Regions from separate parts of the Homo sapiens genome. Here region 2 is linked to region 1. The links are contacts of gene promoters, found by promoter capture Hi-C in blood cells and fetal thymus (Javierre and others, 2016). All regions are on one chromosome and are shown on one strand. The core of a region is centred on a gene start or on the middle of the fragment in contact, and the rest is flanking DNA. Distances in the headings are between cores, read along the strand shown.

Region 1 (4,021 bases), core at 841-3,340:
TGACTCAGTCTGTGTTATTTTGTTATGGCAGCCCTAGCCAACTTATACATACAAAGCATTATTTTTTTCTGAACTATTCAAAAGTAAGTTACAGACATGGTCCTTTAGTACTAGAAGCAAGTGCAATATATTCTCTTACATTACTGCATGCGATTAGCTAACACTGATAAAATGCTATTAGCTAGTTGCAGACTTTATTCATATTTTGCCAATTGTCCTATAATGTCATCTATAGCAAAAGAGAGAAAAAAAGAAGCAAGAAAGAGAAAAAAAGAAAGACAAAAAGTTTTGGGTCCAGAATCCAATCCAGAATCAAACAGCATTTAGCTGTCATGCCTAGGCTCCTTTAATGGAGAACAGTTTCTCATTCTTTGTCTTTCATGGCCTTGGAGCTGTCAAGAGTACAAGCAATTTATCTTGTAGAATATCTCTCACTTTGGGCTTGTCTGATATTTCCTTGTGAATAGATTAAGATCTACTAGTGTGTTCCAAAGCTTTACAACTGTTTTTTTTCCTGGACAGTTTTAACATTCTAGGTCTGTGATCTTTCTTCTCAATGTGAAATGAGGAATCTGTAACCGTTTTTAGGAGACTCATTGGTTTAGGAAAATCACCTTATTAAATTTACAGACTTGTTAAGAGCTACGAAGTGATGTGTCTCCTCAATGGATCCTATCAGAAGGCATATATGTGTGTTCCCTTACTGGGTGGTGCTAACTTTGATCACGTGGTTGAAGCAGTAACTGTCATGTTTCTTCACTGTAAATTTACCATTTTCCTTTCCTTCCTGGAGGCTAGAAGTAAAGGTCAAGGTGTTGACAGGATTGGTTTCCCCTGTTCTTTGTTTGTTTGTTTTGTTTTTTGAGACAGAGTCTTTTTGTTGCCCAGGCTGAAGTGCAGTGGCACAGTCTCGGCTCCCTGCAACCTCTGCCTCCCAGATTCAAGCGATTCTCATGCCTCAGTCTCCCCAGTAGCTGGGATTACAGCGTCCGCCACGATGCTCAGATAATTTTTTGTGTTTTTAGTAGAGACGGGGGTTTCAACACATTGGCCAGGCTGGTCTCGAACTCCTGGCCTCAGGTGATCCGTCCGCCTTGGCCTCCCAAAGAGCTGGGGATTACAGAAGTGAGCCACCGCGCCCTGCCCTCCTTAAGTTTCCTTGCGGGAGAGATACTTTGAGACTATGCAAAAAGTTTGCGGGAAAAAATACAGGAAGCCCAGTTGAATCTGAATTCCAGATAAGCCATAAATAAAGTATAAATATGACCTCCCAAAGTGTTTATCTAAAATTCTGATTTGATTGGGCATCTTGTGTTTTTATTTGCTAGATCTGGCAACCCTATATGTAAATATCTTGCTCCTCATCCAACTTTCACCCAGTTGTTTTGACATCTATTGCTGCTTCTGAATCAGGGTTGCACATGCAACCCTGACGTCTGTCTCTGAATATCTTTTATGATTTTACTTTTTTTGTTGTTGTTTTGAGATATGGTCTCACTCTCGTCGCCCAGGCTGGAGTGCAGTGGCGCGCCTTCAGCTCACTGCAGCCTCAACCTCCTGAACTCAGGTGATCCTTCCACCTCAGCCTCCCCAGTAGCTGGTACTGTAGTCACGCGCCACCATGTACTGATTTTGGAAAATGGTGATTTTCTAACTCCATCATTCCTTTTACTTCTGTTCGTTGGCATTCTATCAGCTTGTCTTTTCATCCACCCTTTACAGTGCTTGGCACACAGTAGGCGCTCATATAATTGTTCAACGAATGAATGAATGAACTTTTCTCTTGTGTTGTCCGGCCTTCGGTGACACTAGCGGCGTCAGGCAGGAGTTTGACTTCCTCAGCCTATCATGGCACGTTGCCGAGGCTTCAGCGCCTTACAGGACCTCGCTCCAGGCTCTTCTGGCTCCAATCAAAAGCAGGGCTCTTTCGGACTTCGCTTACGTTTAATAAAGAAAACCGGTTGGCCCCTTCGGCTCCACCTGGCTCAACAGACAGCCAGTGGCATGCGGCAGGGACCAATGGGTGGCGGAGGGAGGCGGGGCCTGCCACGAGGCCGCAGTATAACCGCGTGGCCCGCGCGCGCGCTTCCCTCCCGGCGCAGTCACCGGCGCGGTCTATGGCTGCGACTTCTCTAATGTCTGCTTTGGCTGCCCGGCTGCTGCAGCCCGCGCACAGCTGCTCCCTTCGCCTTCGCCCTTTCCACCTCGCGGCAGTTCGGTAAGAGGGTCACAGAGCTCGGTCAGCGCGGAAAGCTGAGGGGAACGGAGGGCGAGGGGCACGCCGGGCCCCCGAGGGACACCGAGGGAAGTCCTTCCCGAACATCTCCGCCCCGGCGGTGGTGGCCGCTGAGGGGTGTGGCGGGGCGACGTGGCACCGAGCGCCGCCGCAGCTCTCGACTGGGGCGCTTCCTCGGCGCGGAGGGCTGGTACCCGAAGCCCGCCTTTCGGAGGGAGCCGCTCTCCTGCGACTCGGGGCGTCGCCGGGGCCCGTGGCCAGTCGGCGGGCGGGACGGGGGTGGCGTGCGGAACGCGAAGGCATCAGTTTACGCGGAGCCTTCCGACAGCGCCGGCCGCCTCTGGCTGGGATGCTGAGAGTCGTCTGGGGGAGAACAGGCGAGGGTTCCAAAAGAGCAGCCCTCGGCGAGTTGTCCTTGCGGGGACCCTAGCGGCGGAGGGCGCTGCTGCAGCTGATGAAATCGCGGAGCCGACTTGCTCGGGGTCCCCGCGCCGCCCTCCTCCCTCCGCCGGTGGGAGTGGCCCGCGCTGCCTCCGCTCTGCCAGGAACATGAACGGACTCTGGGCACCCTAGCTTTGGCTGCAGCCCACCAGAGCCTGTCAGTGCCGGGCTGCGTACATAGAGGTGGCAAACATCCGGGAGGCTCCCAGGGCCTTAGGGAAAGGGGGAATGGAGAGTGACAAGTACCCATATTTCAGCGGTACTTGCAGAATTTCAGTTTTACAAGATGAAGAGTTCTGAAGATGGATGGTGGTGATGGTTGCACAACATATGAACGTATTTAATACCACTGAACTGCACTTAAAAATGGTTAAGATGGGCCGGGCGTGGTGACACGCGCCGAGGCTGAGGCACGAGAATCGCTTGAGCCCAGGAGTTCGAGGCTGCAGTGAGCCGTGATTGCACCACTGCCCTCCAGTCTGGGCGACAGAGCGAGACCCTGTCTCAAAAAAAAAAAAAAAAAAAAAAGTTGATAAGGTTTATGTTATGTGAATTTTACCACAATAACAAAATTGGGAAAAATATACAGGGGAGGAGGAAAGGAAAAGCTCTGTTTGCATTTTTGGGTTTCCTTGGGAAGGTGATTTGGTCGGTCATTAGAGCGCTGGCATTGTTGGCATTGTTAGAGCCCTGCACCTTACAACATCAGCCCCTTCTTTTTTTCATCTAACGTTCACTGTGTACCAGACACTATGCCAAGCTGTGCGAATTCAAAGATGAGAAAAACTGTTCTTAATGGAGCTCATGTTCCTGACAAGGGGCAGAACACGCGTGTAATTTCCAGTCAGTGCGGAAATGCTGTTAGAAATATTTCAAAGGCGCTGCTTGTTGGAGCAATGAGTTCTTGAAGGAAAACGTGGGAGGGGACTTTCAGGGTTTTCCCTGGTCTGACTCTTGACCTCCCCCATGTTTCGTTACTGTGTGTTTTCTCCCCTTCTCCCTCTTCCTGAGTGCTGGCCTCATGTGACTGTGGACCAGACCTTTCCTAGGCTTCCATGGTCCAAAAGAGATTTATAAAGATGCTCTCATTCATTACCTAAAGAACTGGGCCAGTTTGTCTACACTCTCCAATAACAAATGCTCTTTTCACTACCTTTCTGAAAGAACAAGTAAGCTTCATCCACATCTCTGAAAGCAATCCATATTATCTGTACTGCACATTTGCTATTTACAATTCCCACATATTGCTTTCTTACTGCTGCTTATTTTTTAAAATACTGTTTATTTTTAAATACTGCTTATTTTTAAAAAGTTGTATCCTTTTAAAAATATGAGTCTGCATTC
Region 2 (4,021 bases), core at 769-3,268, 910 kb before region 1:
TGCTTGAGGTGCACCTTGCTGTGCCGTTTCTTCTCATCGCTGCGCGCGAAGCGGCGGCCGCACACGTCGCAAGCAAAAGGCTTCTCGCCGGTGTGGGTGCGCACGTGCGTGGTGAGGTGGTCGCTGCGGCTGAAGTTGCGGAGGCAGATGCGGCACTGGAAGGGTTTGTGGCCCGTGTGGATGCGCAGGTGGCGATTGAGCTCGTCGGAGCGCGCAAAGCTCCGCACACAACTCTCCACCGGGCAAGCGAAGGCCTTGGCGTGCGGCCGCGGGCAGAAGCAGCGCGTGCTGCATTTGCCGCCGCGGCGCCCCTTGCGTCGCGCCTTGGCCTGGGGGAAAGGGGTGGGCGGCGGCGGCGGCACGGGTGGTGCAGCCACGCCACTGCTTCCAGGGATGTCCGCCACCAGAGGTTTAGGGAAGTCCGCCGCGGCGGCGCTGCGAAGGCCCAGCGGGGAAAGCTGAGGCTGCGTACTGGCCAGAAACTCTCCGCCGTCGCCGCTACTCCCTCCCTCCCCACTAGGAGGGGTCAGGAGCCCAGGGAGGCCCTCAGCCCCCTCCCCTAAGTCACCCGGGGCCAGCGGGAAAGCGTCATAGGCCCCGCTGGGATAGAGTCTGTTGGCTGGGACGGCCGGCAGTTCCGCAGGGCAGCTGATGGACAGCAAGTCCTCAATCTTGGTCCCTATTACGGGAAAACGAGCCTCCGGGGCGGCCTGGTAGTCTCCCTGTGACCCACAGTTCCCTGGGGCCCCCACAGAAAGCAGCTCCCAGGGCGCGTAGGGACCCTTGAAGGCAGAGACAGCGTCCAGCGCTGGCGAGGCGGGAGGCGCCCGGAGGCCGGGCTTGACGTCGGGCGGGGAGAGCTGAGGCTCATACAGGCACTGCGAGGGGGCACCCGCGCAAGGCGAGGCCTCCCAGAACGCCTCTGGGAAAGGGGCAGCGCCCAGATCCGGGGAGTAAAGGTCCGGCGGACCCGGCAGCAAGGCATCGGACCCCGCAGGAAAAGGGGCATCCAGCGGGGATCTGGACGCTGCTGCCTCTGGACCGGGGAAGGGTGCCAGGCCTAAGATGCCCGACATGAGGTTGAAGAGTGCCTCCGGGTCGTGCGGGTGTTCGGGCACTGCCTGAATGAAGAAGCTACCGCTGTAGCTGAGGCCGGGAGGGGGTGTGGGCGCAGGCCCCTCCAGGAAGCAGGAGTCGGCTAAGTCCCCACTTGCGCCGCAGCTGTTCAAAGCCCAGCTCAAGAAGTCGCCTGCTGAGGAGGGAGCAGGAATCAGCTCTGGGCACATCAAAGGGTGCACCTGAGTCCACAGCCCCTACCTACAAAACTCTTGGTGCCCACGGATATACACAAAGTGCCTTTTGCACATTCTGATTCAGCAGGGGCCCGCATACGTCCCAAGGAGCACATAGAAACATGCACACGCAAAACACACGTGCACAGGCAAAAGGGCGCTCCGATAACCGCACAGGTTCCTGCGGAGGCGCTGGCGGCCCAGTGTGGGTGGGAATGGGGGTGCGCACCCCAGGACTCCTAAGCTTCCCATCGCCCCTATTCTCATAGCTCCAATGTCCCAGTCCCTCCTGGTTCTCAGGTATGGTGCGCCCCCGCGCTGCGCCGTCGTCGTCTGAGCACCCCTGCTCGCCCTCCTTACCTCCAGGGTAGCCGGTGGCCGCGGGAGCGTCCCTGGCAGGCAGCCGGGGCAATTCAGCGCTGGGTTCGGCGCAACAGCCTTCAGTGGACTTGACGAGGAGCGCGTCGGGTTCGGAAAACTCGCTAAGGTGGAGCATGGCGCGGCGCCGGCTGTGGGGCGCCCGGGGCCTCGCCCGCTGGGCTTGGGGGCGCGCGGGTGGCGGGGAGGCTGGCGGTAGGGGTTCCCCGCAGCGCACAGACCTAGGCGCCCGGGCTCCTGGCTTCGGGCACTCACCTCTGGGAAAGGAGTCGGGGAGCCGCGGCGCCCTCGCTCGCCCGCACCGGCCTCGGGCGGCGGCTCCTCGCCTCTCCAAAGCGCTGCCGGGCTCCCCCAGCCCACAGCCCCCCCACTTATATAGCTGCGGCGGCGCTGGCTCCGGGCTTCCGACTCCCCGGGCCACTGCCATTTTGGGAGGCCCCGGCCCTGCCGCCGTGACGTAAATGCCCAAACATGGACACAGGATGTGTGCCGGGGACTCCCGAAAAGGAAAGCTCGAGCTGTGACGTTGTTGTTGTCGCCGCCGCCGCCAGGCTCGCGCCGCTGCGTGCGCGCGCGCTCCCCAGGCGTGGAGCGCTGGGGCCGCGGATGCGCCAGTCTGGGGCGCTGCGCCTCACCGGGCCGACCGTCCGGTAGATGCGCTTCCCACCTGGAGGCAGAGGCCGAGGGGCAGCAGGGGAGGACCGTGTTGGGTTTGAATCTGCCCTCTGCCACTAACTAGCTTGACACTCAGTCCCCCTTAACGTCAGTTTCTCACCTGTGCATTTCCTGTGGAGAGAAACTGAGAGCACATAAATGTCCAGGCGCACTCAGTAAACCACAGAGATTATTGCCATTCATTTCTTTTGCTCACGCCTGTGTGTTTTTCCATTTTAAGTTTTTTTTTTTTAAATTTGTGCTAGGAAAAATAATTTAAATTAAAAAGGACTGTAATACTTGTTAACAGTAGGAGGAAAGTCAACTAGCACAACAGGGTATATTCTAAATTGAAAAGTAAAAGTCCCTCCTCTCCACCTACCTTCATTCCTAGCTCCTGAGGTAGCCACATTTAAGTTTCTTGGGTATTCTTTCAGAAGAATTTTATGTATATCCAACCATACACATTGTTCTGCAATATTATTATTATTATTATTTTTTCACTTGAAATAACTTAGAGATTGTGCCATGTCCTGACATAAAGATCTTGTCATTCTTTTTCAAGGCTGTATAGTACTCCATTGTAAGGGAGGACCTTGAGTTAGTCGATTTGTCCCCTATCCATGAGCATGTAGGCAGTTTCCAACTTTTTACTTATACCAATGTTGTTGGAGTCAACATCCTTGACTATATAAATGTGAATGTGTCTGTGAGATAAATTCCAACGAGTGTAATTGTGTGCCAAAGTATATGTAAAATTTTGATAGACAACTGGCAAATTGTCTTCCAGAAAAGTAGGGCCAATTCCTGCTCACTCCTCCCTCACCCACAGGGTATGAGATGCTTCTGCAGAACATTTTTTCTGCCTTCATACAAATGGCTTTCGCTCTAAGGATGTTGATCCCAGCAACACACAGGGAATCCGTGGGAAATATCTCCCTGGAATCAGTACTTGAAATAATTGGGCTTCTTTTGAGAAAAAAAAAAAAAATCCTAGCCTTAAGGAGGCTGTGAATCTTGGCTGCAGAAGCATCAGAGCCAACTCCAGCAAAGAAGCTTGCCTACTCTCCTAGTCTCATCTCTCTTCTGCTGTGGTTTTCCCTCTGTCTCATTCTCTCATTCTTTTTAAAATGTTTATTTTATTTTGTATTATAGCTCACTTAACTCCTTTCTGGAACCAAATTAAATAAATACATGGGGGGGAAGGATTAAATAAATACATGGAATAGCATGTTCTTCTTTATGAAGAGCATCAATTCCTGAGACTCTGTGTGCTGGAGGGTAAGGTGGGCAGGTTTAGGGCTCCTCCTTCCTTCTCTCCTTTTTTGAAATAGAAACAAAGCCCTTTGGGGGTGGTGGACTCAGCATCATGGGCAGTATAGCTCCCAGCCTCTCTTCCACCCCTGTACCCTCTTTTTCAAGAGAGAGAGAGAGAGCCCAAGAATGCCCAAACCCCACCACATTCTCAGTCCTTTCACCCTATGTCCATTATCCAAACATCCATTCAGTTTCTCAATGTTCATTCATTCAGTATTCATTTCTTAAGTGCCTATTACAGGCCAGAAGGTAGACTTTGGTTTTATGTCTGCTGGGACCCTGAGCCCCATCTCCAGCACTAGGTGCCCACTCCTCATCCCACAGTGACCTTATTAAGTGTTTTCACAGAATATGTCCCTTCACACAATCACCTGCAAAAC

The links. The method cuts DNA at HindIII sites, captures the fragments that hold promoters and counts their contacts. A CHiCAGO score of 5 or more calls a contact.
Region 2: a contact is called between the fragment with the promoter of EGR4 here and the fragment with the promoter of MTHFD2 in region 1, in 1 of 17 cell types (fetal thymus). The highest score is 5.1, in fetal thymus.

What each region holds. Positions count from the first base shown.
Region 1 is chr2:74,196,525-74,200,545 of GRCh38, forward strand. It overlaps MTHFD2 (methylenetetrahydrofolate dehydrogenase (NADP+ dependent) 2, methenyltetrahydrofolate cyclohydrolase), which reads left to right and starts at 2,091. Exons shown (of 8, transcript NM_006636.4): 1 at 2,091-2,218. The coding sequence starts at 2,118. RefSeq lists an enhancer at 1,753-2,311 and silencers at 2,020-2,159, 2,350-2,629, 2,760-2,849. The HindIII fragment of the contact is 3,357 bases long and covers 493-3,849 here.
Region 2 is chr2:73,291,530-73,295,550 of GRCh38, forward strand. EGR4 (early growth response 4) reads right to left here and starts at 2,019. Exons shown (of 2, transcript NM_001965.4): 1 at 1,653-2,019; 2 at 1-1,252. The coding sequence starts at 1,788. RefSeq lists an enhancer at 1-305 and a silencer at 2,302-2,381. The HindIII fragment of the contact is 1,844 bases long and covers 1,535-3,378 here.